Linked DNA regions of Homo sapiens: all the other regions are linked to region 2. The links are contacts of gene promoters, found by promoter capture Hi-C in blood cells and fetal thymus (Javierre and others, 2016). All regions are on one chromosome and are shown on one strand. The core of a region is centred on a gene start or on the middle of the fragment in contact, and the rest is flanking DNA. Distances in the headings are between cores, read along the strand shown. Region 1 overlaps USF3 (upstream transcription factor family member 3). Region 2 holds the start of CD47 (CD47 molecule). Region 3 has its middle 18 kb from the start of ZNF80.

The links. The method cuts DNA at HindIII sites, captures the fragments that hold promoters and counts their contacts. A CHiCAGO score of 5 or more calls a contact.
Region 1: a contact is called between a fragment that was not itself captured here and the fragment with the promoter of CD47 in region 2, in 1 of 17 cell types (neutrophils). The highest score is 5.9, in neutrophils.
Region 3: a fragment that was not itself captured here is called in contact with the fragment with the promoter of CD47 in region 2 in 1 of 17 cell types (activated CD4 T cells); the score reaches 6.1 in activated CD4 T cells.

The regions. Positions count from the first base shown.
Region 1 is chr3:113,688,858-113,693,276 of GRCh38, forward strand. The region is part of intron 1 of USF3 (upstream transcription factor family member 3); the gene reads right to left. Among named protein-coding and RNA genes, the nearest start is that of USF3, 5.6 kb to the right of the region's middle. The HindIII fragment of the contact is 3,967 bases long and covers 1,125-4,419 here.
Region 2 is chr3:108,088,545-108,093,391 of GRCh38, forward strand. CD47 (CD47 molecule) reads right to left here and starts at 2,487. Exons shown (of 11, transcript NM_001777.4): 1 at 2,319-2,487. The coding sequence starts at 2,364. RefSeq lists silencers at 2,211-2,960, 2,981-3,030, 3,041-3,100. The HindIII fragment of the contact is 8,318 bases long and covers 1,682-4,847 here.
Region 3 is chr3:114,217,163-114,221,702 of GRCh38, forward strand. No RefSeq gene overlaps it. Among named protein-coding and RNA genes, the nearest start is that of ZNF80, 18 kb to the right of the region's middle. The HindIII fragment of the contact is 1,738 bases long and covers 2,017-3,754 here.

The sequences.
Region 1 (4,419 bases), core at 1,858-4,357, 5.6 Mb after region 2:
GTGAAACCCCGTCTCTACTGAAAATTAGCTGGGCGTGGTGGCGGGAGCCTGTAGTCCCAGCTACTCGGGAGGCTGAGGCCGGAGAATGGTATGAACCTGGGAGGCGGAGCTTGCAGTGAGCCGAGATCATGCCACTGCACTCAAGCCTGGGCAACAGAGGGAGACTCCATCTCAAAAAAACAAACAAACAAACAAACAAACAAAAACCAGATGCTATCAAGCCCCCATGTACCTTTCACCTCACATCAATGAATGAAATTGTACAGTAAATAGGAATAGCCTTTGATGTCAGACTTGGGATCACATCTCAAAGCTGGCAGGTACTGGCTATCTGGTTTTGAAATAAGTACCCTTTAGAGTCTCAGCATCCTCACATTTAAAACTGGGAGAGTTTCACCAACTCCTCAGAGGACTGTTACAAGTTTACATGATGATACATTTTACCGATCTAGCAAAGTGCCTGGTACATAGCAGGTGCTCAATACGTGTTAGTTGACTTTCTTCCATTTCCCCCTTAATTTACTGAGAAGATAGAAGTCAAGTCATCTGGTCCAAGTTCCTTAACTGGATTCTACATTTACCGTAAATCCTATAAATCTATAAATCTATCCTTTCAGGCCTCCAGGACTTCTTAAAGTTAATTATTTGATCTGAGAAAAGGGAAACTATATTTGATTTTTTCCACTTTAGCACTATTTTCTCTCTTAACCAGCTCTCCTTCCAAAATGCAAGGATTTTCCTCATGTTAAACAAGAATTTACTGCCTTTTCTGCCTACAAGTCTATTTCTCTCCTCATGTTCCTGTGAAACTTCTCACCTCTCCAACTTGGCCAATCTCTCCTAAACCTTCTGGCTGCTCCAGCCAACCAAAGCTGCTTCCTTGGAGGTCAGGGGCTATTTTTCACCAATCATAGGTCATTTTCCTCTTGGCAGGATTTGAGGCTGCTGATCTCTCTCTTTCTTGAAATTCTCTCTCCTAGGTTATCTTTCTCCTCTCCAATTATGCATCCTCTTTCTCTAACATGAACGCTTTTCTTTCTCCTTTGAGTTCCAAGGCCCAACAATCTCTTCTCTTTTTCAGGTTTGCTTTTTCCCTACAAAGGTTTAAACTGCTTCTGTGCAAAAGCTTTTATGTTTTTGTAAGAAAGCTACCTTTCAACTCTGACTTTGCCCCTAATCTTTGGTTAGGCAAAGCTCTCTTCAGAACACTGCATTTTGAACAAATTAACAAGTCTGTTTGGAATGTGTTAAATTCCCTTTTCTCTTAAGAGATCTATTTCCAAGTTCTCCATTTTATCAATGACACCAAAAGTTTAACATGGATCTAGACCCAAAAATCTTCATATCTTCTCACCAAATTCTATCAATTGTTTTCATAATGTTCATCTCTTCCCCTTTGTTATGACCACCTTAGATTAGGCCCCATTTTACACGTCTGGCCTTAAGCAGTCTTTGTTATTGCCCTCAGCCTTTCTCCCATTTGATGGATTTTATACCCCAATGTCTCATCAGTCTTTTCAGTTCACCATATTTACCATGTCCTCTCCTGCTGCAGACTCTACAGTACTATTTCCCACAATCAACTGCATCATATCCAAACTCCAGGTCTTGGCATTCATGACTGTACCTTCTTCACTGGCAGGTCTCACCTACCCCCTTCCACCTAGTACAACACACATAAAAGCAGGTTTTCTAGCTAATTATGCCATCTACCCTTCCCTCCTCTTCAATTCAGACAGGTTTATCCCTGTGCGCCTTATCAGCTACTTCACTTTATGCTAAATTCATGCTATTTTCCCACTGAAATGACCTTTCCACTTTGCTCTGTTTATCCAAATCCTACCAACCCTTTAAAGTCCGGTGCAAGTCTATCCTCCTATATAAAATCTTCCCTAATATTTCTAGCAAAACTAAACCCTCTACCTATACTCTGGACTCTATCACTCTCGCTACTTAGTAAACTTCTTACATAATGTCCCTTTTCTCTCATATATTATTAATCCCTCCTTCTCTCTTAGTGCCTTTCCATTAAAAATATCCTTATTCAGGGCCAGGCACGGTGGCTCACACCTGTAATCCCAGCACTTTGAGAGGCCAAGGGAGGTGGCTCACTTGAGCTCAGGAGTTTGAGACCAGCCTGGGAAACAAGGCAAAACCCCATCTCTACCAAAAATACAAAAAATTAGCCAGGTGTGGTGCTGCAAACCTGTAATCCCAGCTAATCAGGAGCCTGAGGTAGGAGGATGGCTTGAGCCCAGGAGGCGAAGGTTCCAGTGAGCCAAGATCGCACCACTGCACTCCAGCCTGGGAGACAGAGTGAGATCCCATCTCAACAAAAATAAAAATAAATCCTTATTCAACTTTTTCCATGTAAAAACCTAAACTGATTTTTCTCCTGACCTTGCAACTCCCCACAGGTGTCCCCATTCTTCCTCCCAACCACCAGTCTTCTTGAACAAGTTGTTTACACTTACTACCCCCTCTTCCTCACTTCTTATTCACTCTTCAACCAGCTGTTACCTGACTTTTATTCCTAAAACTGCTTAAACCAAGCTCAACAAAAGACTTCCACACTGCCAAATCCGATGAACTTTGTAATAAATCTGTTGTTTTGGCCTTCTGACAATAATATCCTGCCTTTCCTTCGGAGATCTTCTCTGTCCCATTCCTGAAATCTGATAGGACCATCAAACACAGGCTCACCTCTGGGGTGGGCATGGGGCTAACTAATAAGACTCCCTGCACAAGGAGAATATCTTGCTGAGGCTGAGTTAGCCCCATGGATCCTTATGATCCTGGGAGCTTCTGTTTTCCTGGCCTTCCCAAGCCTTCATTATTCTATCTCCCTTTCTTTCTGTGAGTTTATCCAGTATCCATTTGCTGCTTAGCCAAATTCAATCTCTATTGTTTATAACCAAAGAGAAACTGGTCCCTCAAATGACACAGAGGTAGACAGCGGTGACACTACAATTTCTTCTCCTTATCTCCTTCTCTTTGGTTTCTGCTGTTTAAGGAATTCCTGAGAACTCTTCATTATCCTCTTTAAAGATTTCTCTGACCCCTAGAGCAGTGGTCCCAACCTTTTTGGCACCAGGGACTGGTTTCGTGGAAGACAATTTTTCCATGGACAGGGAGTGGAGCAGATGGTTTCAGGATGAAACTGTTCCATCTATCTCAGGCATTAGATGATCATAAGGAACATGCAACCTAGATCCCTTGCATGTGTGGTTCAGAATAGGGCTCGCACTCCTATGATAATCTAATGCTGCCGCTGATCTGACAGGAGGGTAGCTCATCTCCTGCTGTGCGGCCTGATTCCTAACAGGCCACTTGGGGACCCCTGCCTTAGAGGTTAGACTAAATACCCTTCTTCATACTCCCAAACATCCTAATACTCCACAATGTCTTAACATGAAATACAATCTATATACTTACTAGTTTTCACCACCAGACTATAATAAATGGTAGAAACTTATTACTCCATTACTGAGTGCTAATTATTGAGAATACAAATATGTAAAAAATTCATATTATTCATATTACTGAGAATACAAACATGAAAAAAAATTTCATGTTTGTATCCTCAACAATTAGCACTCAGTAACTGAGTAATAAATGTCTGCTGAAAGAATATCTGGTCTTTCCTTTTTTTTGTATTAATCATTATGTCATAGATTTTACATACTTATGTTTAATTTAGCATCTAATGAATACTCCATTGAGTTCCTTAAACAATCCTAATAAGTCTAAAACGTTCTTATGAGCTGAGTCCACCATTTACTATTTCTGTATTCTCTTCAGTACCTAACAGTGTTGGGCACATGGTAAATAATAAATACTTGGTGAACTGAATTAAAAACACAGTATTAGCACACTAATAGAAACAACTTATCATGTCCTACTGATCTAATTAAAAGATCTGGCCTTCTGAAGTAGTGCAATTGTCCCCATATGGAAATTTTAATGAGAAAAAGAAAAATTATCCAATTGGACAGTTAACCACGTTTCTTTTAGCAAGAGTTCCACAAATATTTTATGAATAATAAATGTATACCTTTACAGCACAGAGTAAAAGACTCAGGACACATATATGCCTGTGCATACTGGAAGGAAGATTACATATTTAAGGGGTCTGTCACAACTACAATCACTTAGATTCTACTAACCTTTAACAAATCTATAATAGGAGTATAGGACATAAAAATATTTAATAGCAAAATCAATTAATGCCAAATCAACTTACGTTCAAGATGTATATGGCTATCTTTTTATAATATATAACATGGCAGTCATTTACTCATTTAAGAACATTTATTAACTGCCTAGTAATCACAAATACAATGTTAGGTCCCAAAAATACAAAGATAAAAAGAACACATTTCCTATGTTAGTGGAGTTCTATTTCTGCCATGTTGCAAT
Region 2 (4,847 bases), core at 1,237-3,736:
TTTTTATTTAAACAAGCCAAATTACTACTAGACTTAGACGATGGAAAAAAATTTTATTTAATCATATGTACCCTGATTTAAAAAAAAAAACAACTCATTTTGAACAAAGAGGAATCATTCAACCACTGAAAAGACAGTTCACAACACCATCATTATTTATTTAAAGTTTTATTTGCTAGCTAATAAATACCACTGAAACTATGCACTTTTAAACAAAGTATAATTGTACATGAGTGGGGGCAGAGTGGAATGCAACATAGTAATTCATTTCACATCTTGCATACCATTAAGGTGCCTTCCAGTTTGCCTGTAATTGCATGAAATGAGTATCTGAGATAACTTCTTTTACCACAAAGGCCACTAACACTGTAGAGGGTGCCAGGAAAGGTCCCTGATTCCCGGGGCTTAATTAACGAAACTGAAAGCAAAATCAAACTTCAATACAAATGAATGTACAGATCCATCACTTTCTTACTCATTCTAGATTCTAAAGTCAGTCTCTCAAACCCTTGGTTTATAACTACCTATGTGCTGAGACATCTTTCTTCATACATGTCCTTTTGAAGCTATATATTAAACACATACAAAAACATATTTTATAACAAATACTATCCTGTTTTACAGTCCACACTTAACACAACTCAACTGCATAATGCCTGTATTTTGCTTTTTTTTTAGGTTAATATTAACTAAGTAAAATAAAATACTATAAATTCTGAATTCGATGACTCTAGGGATTCGAACACATTAAAATTGTGTGTAAACGAGTGCTAATTACATGATATTAACTATTACTAAAGAAGGCCTAACATAAATCCTATCACTCAAAGTACCATTCCAACAGTTCTAAACTACGTGATTTAAATCTAACCTACCTGTTTTAAAAATAGTATATGGTTTATACTTTTTACTTTTTAGGCAGTTTGAATAAATGATACTGTATCACTTCATATCTGGTTCAATATGAAGGCGTTCTGAAATTATTATGCGATTATACAACACATCTCTGAAAGCAGTATTATTTTAGCTATAATGATAGTAAAGGCAACAAGCATACTAAACGTGATGACAGGAAACACTAACATCAACCATTTAGATAACGGAGACCTGGATTCACAGTCCCAACATCCAGGATGCTCGGGGAGGGAGGAAAGTGGTAAGCAGAGACTTAAGGGCATCTTGGAAATACCTAAAGTCACAAGCCTTTAGGAACGGCACACCGAGGCTAATAATCAGTTTAAAATCGAATTAATTTAGCATTCTAGAATAAATGTAACAATTGCTGTCACTGGTGCTCAAGCTGAATTCTGAATCTTATAAAAGTTCACAAAAGGCTCTATGGATGTGAAGTGTGACAGGCACTCACTGTAGAGCTACGAATGTTTCTATTCCTTGCTCAGTTTTTACAGACGAAGCACACGTTTTACAAAAGCGAAATGGATTCCAAAAGCTCGGGGTGGGGGTGGGGGGGTGGAGGTTCTTTGGCGTCGAAAAACACCAAATCCCATTCTGCTGCACATGTTTTGACTGGAGGTTACTGTCTTCCTATTTCAGGCGAAAACCAGATTACTTTTAAAACGGTTCCCCCAAATAAAGTGGGAAAAACTTCAACGTACAATTTAGAATGTATGCAAGTGGCTGATGGGGCGTGAGGGTCACGAGAAAGGAAGAGTTTCCAGCAAGCTTATTTTTAGGATTAAAAACGACAGCAAAAATTACACGGCCGGAAGATTCTTCTGATTGAATGCTGAGTTGAAAATGAAACTTAATTGTGTCCTTTACGTCCTCTTCGCTCCTATGTTCATGTGGGAGGCAAACGGCAGAAACCCCTTCTCACCGACTTCGCCAAAATGCGCACTTCCATCGCAAGAGGCCCGGGCCCTCCCACTCTCCCTCCCTCAACCCCAAATGCGTCTAAGCACTGAGAAGGGAGAGGGGTGCGAAAGAAGGGGATCCCTAGCAGCTGCAGCCCCTTGCCTCTGATCGCGCCCTTTCTTGCTAGTTAATTTTTGCGCGAGGTGCGCGGTTTGGAGTCTTCCTGTGTGTGTGCATTTGGAGATGGAGAACCGGGTGGAGGAGATGAGCCCCGCTCTCACCCAGGGGGAAGAAGACGACCAGGGAAAGGAAGGGAGGAAGAAGGGGGGCGCCCGATTCCCCGTGGGGCCCTCCCACGTCTGCACTTCGGGCGCTCAGGGCCCGAGTGTTCTGCGCCCCGGCCACCCTCTTCAGGGCGCCGCCGGGCTGGCTGGGGCGCAGCCCACACGCCCGCGGGGGCGAAGCGACAGCAGCCGCAGGGCTGGGAGCGAGGAGCCACTCACCGCAGCACGCCGAGCCCAGCAACAGCGCCGCTACCAGGGGCCACATCTCCGCGCCCGCCGCGGGGTCGCCGCCGCCGCCGCAGGTGTCCGGAGCAGCAGCCGCCGCCGCCGTTACAGGCAGGACCGACCGCCGCCGCGCGTCACAGGCAGGACCCACTGCCCAGGCTGCACGGCCGCGCGCACGCGCGCTCCCACTGCTTCCCGCCCGCTCCCCCGCCTGCTCCCCGCCCGCGAGAGCCGCGCACGCGCACTCGGCCCCGCCCCGCAACCGCTGCTGTTGACGCGGCGCCCTCCCCAGTCGCAGGCTCCAGACCCGGGGCCCGCCTGCCCGCTCCACGGAGGCCGGATGCCTGCTCCAGGGCGGTGGCACGCGCCGCGCTTCCAGGTCACGTCCTGTCGCACCCGCCCGCCCCTGGGGTCCGCGTGCTCGCCCGCCGCAGGAGGCTGAACCCTGTGTTCCCACGCTCGCCGGGGACCTCATTGCACCCGTTCCTGTCCGCGGGTCGGTTCCTGCCTTTCGCGCGGCGCTGGGCCCCACTGTCCTCTCTCTCTACTTTTCTCCTCTTTGCTTTCACTCCCACCCTCGCGCTTCAGGGGCCGGGTCCCGTCCCGCCCCAGCCCGCGTCTCTCCCTGGACCCGACGTCCGGCTGCGCGCGTGGACCAGGACACCTAGGCTTTCACCAGCGCCCGTTTCCTCCGGACGCGGCCGTCTAGCGCCGAAGCGGTCCCTGAGCCCGAGGCCGCCACGCCCAGGGCAGGGCGGTGGTCGGGTACCTGCCCGCAGGGAGCTTCCACTCGCCCCTCGCGGGCTCTGCGTTCGGCTCGTCTACTCGCTCTGCTCTTCCCTATGCGGTTCTCTTCCCTCTTTCTCACTTGGTTCTTTAGTGTTTTCATCCTCTGATCAGGGTTAATCAAACAAGTTCCATTCACGGTGGTAAACATTGTTACCTGTGAACACCGCCACCACCGGGACTAGCGAGCATTGTCGCAAACAGGCATTAGCAGCGTATCCAACACATCCCCACCAGCAAGGTTATTGAGCTTGGTTTGTGACTGCCCCATGTGCAGCCCTCTGCGCTGCGCTTGGGTTTAACATGCTTGAAAAATGGGTTCGAAATGTGGCCGCAAGCCACAATAGGGACAAGGCTTTTGAATTTATCGCTGAATCACACAGGCCACATCATTCATCCTGAAGCAAAAGTCTTTTAAAGATACTTTTAACCGTTATCCTAACTGATGTACTCTCTTATCAAAAAGTCAGGCTCTGGTGGCTGCTCTAATGGAGTGCACATCCTGTCCACCTCCTTGATTGTTTTCCTCCTACCTCCTGGGAAAGAAAGCAATTTCCCACCACAATACCCCACTTCTCCAAATCCTCTACACAGTGCGGCTCCTCCCAAGCATCCCATTGCCACAGAAATAAAATCCAGCGTATGAAAGTGGCACTGTCTATGACACTCTGTACCAGTGTATTGTATACTATCGAGCTTCTTCCTGTAATTGCTTTTTTGTGTGAACCTCTTCCCCACAGCATTATCAATTCTTTTAAATCCGAGAGCATTTTAAGTATTCCCTCCTCCAAGACTTTCCATTGAGCTCGGCAAACAGAAGGGGTTTAATAAATGTGTTGATGCGGCGTGAGGCAGGCATTGCTCTAGTGAAATTTGATTGCTTTTTTAATGATTGAAAAATAAAAACAATTGCCTGGCAGACATCTCACTAAAACAATGGTTAATAATTATGGTGGTAATGATTTGAATGGCAGCCTTGACACCCCGAGGCAACCAAAGGGACTCATCGATTCTCCTCCAACTGCTGCTTATGTGGATACAAAAGAATCATCCACCAGACTTTGAGCATTAGGGACATTGTGTATCACAGAGCAGCTGGTTGGCTAAATAAGGCTGTCAGCTGTCCCTGATACCAACCAACCCCCCTAAAGCTGAAGAGTGACTAGAAAGGACTGTCCCCAACCTTCAGAGGTGGAGATCGGGTGATGTTCTGTTTTACACTGGGAGCTACTGAGCTATATGCTTAACGTCTTTTTGTGCAGAAAATGGAATGAGAGGCCACCTGGGTGACCACTGCTGCTCTTGGGAATCTAGCTGGGGTATGTTTTGGTGGTGGGGCAAAAGCAGGCATATCCCAGGAGAGACAGTCCAAAGCAGCCTGCCTAGGTTTGATTATCCTCTCTCTGAGATAACCTTAAGCTCTTTTCAGTATTTAATCATTTTAAAGGTTTGCCTTTTAACTTTTCAAAGCATTTTAATTTGGATGTTGAGCTCATCTTATCTGTATGTAAGGAGTTTCTTGGGTAGAGAGGGAGGGGATAATACATATTAGAATGTTTTGAACACAGGAAGTACACATTAGCTATATCACCTAAGTTAATCTTCATAACAACCTCAGAAAGGATAAATGTTATGATCTCCCTTTTTGAGATGAGGAAACAAAGGGAAAGAGGAATGGTGAGCACTTTGCCCACAGTTATAAGTGACACTGCTCTCTCTCTTGTCTCTCTCCCTTGT
Region 3 (4,540 bases), core at 1,636-4,135, 6.1 Mb after region 2:
GAAAATTATTTAACCTCTGTATGCCTCAGTTATCCCAAATGCAAAATGGAGATAATAATTGTACCTCTCTCACAGGGTTGTTCTGAGGATTCAATGAGGCAATGTCTGAAATGCATTTATCACAGTACCTGGTGCAGAGTGAGTATGGATAGATTTTTAATTGAAGCAGTTTTATCAGCTATCTAGGTCACCAGAGCCCCAGTATTTCTGAAGGGACAGAATGAGCTTTTGGCAGGTACTGAGGAGCTTCTCAAGGAGGGTGAGCACAGATGCTGACTTAGCCATGAGAGGCACAGTTCAGAGAGGAGGGTAAGGAAAACAGGCCCACAGCCAAGACAGAACAATTAAATATGTAGGGAGCTGAGAGACTTGACAGAAGAAGTGGAAGTAAAACATGTTTCTAGTCAGGGCTATGAGGAGGGTTGCCTGGAGGCTCTATTGGTAATTGATGTGCCTCTGACAATAATTAGAAACAATTTCTGGGGACTTACAGGGTACAATCACCTAGTGATATTATTTACCACAGAGAGTAGTGTCTGAGTTGAAAATGGATGTTATTGTTTCCTGAGAGCACATTACAAGGTGACTTCATGGTGAATAGATTTTTCAAGATATTTGACATTCATTGACTTTCTATTTAGCTCCTCTTACTCACAGAGGCCATTACTCTAATGACAATACCTGGATTTATCTCTGTTAATGGCAGAAGACATGTGAAAGATAAATCCTCGTTGTGTGGGCCTCCAAATCATGAATGCGACAGCTTTGCCTTCCCAAGCCTCTTAGATACCTAAGGGATTCTGAGAGTGTGGAAGGCCCAGGGCATAGCCTCACCCCAGTTCAAGAAATCCTCAACCACTAATGCCAAGGGACCGGACTAGCACAAATTGTCTTGTCTTTTTCTAATGTGAGCTTTATTTTATGTCACTTGGGACTAAGTAACATAGTGTATATAAAATAGCACAGAGCCTGGCTCATAGTGAGCACTCAGGAAGTGTTGACTCAAGAATTATTGTTTTCTTGAGTTCTTCTGATAAGACCTAGGGGGCCTCCCATATTTGGCATACTTCAAGCCCTGGGGAAGGGATCAGGGTTGGGGGAGAATCAGTGGCATTTGGACAATGGTGCTGGAGAGCGGTATTCCCCTGAGGAATCCCAAGATTCGGTGGCTTGGTTTTTCTTTCAGTTGGCTTCTCTTTGTGTATAAGCTTGGAGGCAAGATGCCAAATTACAGCTCACCTACAAGGGTATTACATAGGGGTTTGAAGTCAAAGCTTTATAGATTGAACAGTATCAATTTGGCTTCCATTCCTTCTGCATTGGAAGTCAAATGGGAACGGAGATAGGGTCCAGGGAAGGAGACAGGAGGGGGCATCTATGATTGTAACCTAGCCTCCAAGCTGAGGGACAAAAGGAGTCCCAACAGCTTATCCCATGTTCTAGCCCAGCTCGCCGAGATGGGAAACAATACTTAAGGCATGTTGAAGTCTAAGCCCTACAGATGGTTTCCCAAAAGAGCGTTATTGGCATTTTGGGAGGAACGATTCTTTATTGGGTGGGACTGCCCCTGGCAGTGCAGGGTTATAGAACACCTGTTGCCTGTGCCCATTACATGTTGATAGAGTCTCCCATCCACAGGCACTGCGATAACCAAAAATCTCTACACATTTCATAACTTGCCCAGGTTGAAAACCTTAGTATGAGTGACAACACGCCTGGCATGTCCTCGGTGCAAATAGACTTCTCTGCAAATGTGACTGCACACCAGCTGGCTGGCCAGCTACCTGGCCTCATCTGAGTCACTCCCTCGTCGCAGTTTGAGAATGGTGGAGGCTGGCAGAGCAGTCTCCCGAGACTGAACAAGTATTTAAAGACTGTAGATCCTGGCTGTCCCCTTCGTGGAGATGCGACCCTCTGTGCAAGGGCTGTATTAGTCACACTACCTTCAGTCATGCATAAGTGTCCCAGTTCATCACATACCACCTGCAGAGGGTGTGTTTACTCTGAAGCTAATGAAGCTTTAAGATTTGGAGCCTCTTTCAAGGCTCGTGTATGAAAGAAACTTGATAGAATTCCCAAATTTGAAACAATCCTAAAATTTTATATGACATTACCAATAACGCCTCATCTGAAAAATTTGGCTGTGGAATGATATTAAGAATAGCTACAAAGTGTTACAAGTCTGCGTGTGTCAGACAATATATACTACATGCTTTCAACCTTCCCGTGAGTTCATTTTTTATTATACTTATTTAATAATTGAGGAAATTGAAGAAGAGGGAAGTCAAATGCCTTGCCTAAGATCACACAGGCAACAGGGCTAAGCATCAGGATTTGAACTTCAAACTTTCTGATTCCAAAGCCCCACATGCTCTGGATTAGGTTACACTGCCTCTCAGGCAGGGGTCATAATTAATGCATGGAGATGCTGGTTCAAGTAAAGGTGTGAAGAGTGGGACTCCTGGGCTTATCTGACCACAGTGGGTGAAGGACAAGTGCAGGGTCCCTGAGGAGATGCGTGTTTGGCTGACAGGGCAGAGAGTGTGCTAGCAGGCTAAGGGGGAAATCCCTCTGGGAGGGATGGCAAACAGACAGAGGTGGAAAGTTGAAGACATTGACCAGGAAGAGTCAAATGGTCTGTTTTGAATCTCAGCTCAATCTGGAATGTTCTGTTCCTGAAAAAGGAGTGACGTTCCCCTCCTCTTTGCTGACTACATAACACAGAGCCCTCAGATTTGCAAGTTAGAGAGCAGAGGTGCAGGGTCAGGCAAGCGGACAGAAAAATCAGCAGCAAGTATTTCCCTGGCAGACTGTACTGGAGGGAGCAGCCATCTGAGGAGAGTTGTTGGTAAGGATTTGGCATTTGAAGTATTTTTGAACAAGTGCAGGTGCTGAGAATGTATATTTTCAAAAAAAATAGTAAATAAAATAAAGTCACCTTACAAGAAAGAGACAATGTGAACTAATGTGGGCAAGAACGGCACCCATTTGTCAGAGAGAAAAAGGATGTCACAGTAGGAGAACTCCAGAAGGGTCAGAAGGAGACACATTTTCTTACCCACAATAGGCGAAAGTGTTTCTCCAGTTTGTCAGTGAAGAAGGGTTAGAAATGTACATGAGAAACCCCTTTTATATCACTGATTCAGTCTTGTGTACAATAACGCTTAAATAAACAATGTGTAGTGTTCATCACAATATAGATTCATATTACCAACGACTCTCTTTTTTTGCCATTATAAAGAGTTAAGGATTCCCTGTGTAATTTGACAATTAGCAAAATGAAAATGCACATCTTACCAGTCACTTGTTGGAATGTATCTTACAGAACTACTAGCATGGGTATATAAAGATATAGGGACAAACAAATTTATTATAGCACTTGTTGAATAAATTATGGTTCGGCAGCAGTGGTTTACTACCAGTCATTTCACAAGGTTTGAATAGATGTGTTATATTAAGTGAAAAAAGCAATGTGCAAAAAAATCTTGTGCAGTGTGCAGTCTTATTAAGAAACACTGTACATGTGTGCATGTGCCTATATGTAATTGTATAAACAGAGGAAAACAGTCTGAGAGGACAGTGGATACATTTGAGTGCTGAAGTCAGAAATAAGAAAGGATTCTCACTTTTTAATTTATATCCTTCTCAAAAAGGTAGAAGTGGTGGGATTGTGGGTGATTTTTACTTATTTATTTTTTGTGCCTTCTTTATGTTTTCCCAAATTTCCTATAGAGAACCTGTGTTCTGTAAATGAAGCTTTTATGATTAAGCTTCATTTCTGCCTGGGAAGCAGTGCAGTGTAGAGGCTAAGCCTATGGGTTCCGAAGTCGGAATACCTGGGTTTACATTCCAGCTCTACATCTATGCAGGGGATGATGATTGTGGATGAATGACTTCGCCTCTGTGTGCCATAGTTTCCTCTTCTGTAACATGGAGGTACTAACAGTATTCCAGTCCATGAGACTGTTGGGAGTATTGCGTGAGACCCTTTGTGTAAAGGGTGTGGTCAGGGTGTAGGAAGTGTTGGCCATTATTATTGGATGTGGAAAGATCAAGCTCAGGGGCACAGGTAGACAGATTGATGTGAGCAAAGGGCTATGCTTTCCTCGTTTTCCTCTGAGACTGGAGAGAAAGAGCCCAACTGGCGGCAGAAACAAGCTGCTGCAAAGAGGAGAGTAGAGGCTGGACTTGCTCAGGTTGCTTTTCTTCTCTTGTTAGAGAACAGGAGAGAGAGCCACAGGGAGAAGATCTGGAATGACCTTTTGTTTCAGTTCCTGCCCACCTTTCTTGTGGTCCAGCAGTCATTTCCTTTCTTCTGCAGGCCTTATTCCTGCCCAATTCTCTGGGAATGGAGAATGAATGTGTGCGCCAAGGGCCTGTCCTCACCCCTTTCCACTGAGAGGTAGGGACAAGGGATTCCACTTTTCCTTCCAAGTTTTGAAATCCCCTAAGCAAATCCTGTCCAGGCTGGACCCGTCACAGTATTTCATCAGCTTCCTCCATTCTGAGGCTTGGACAAATGATTAGACACCAGGAGCTG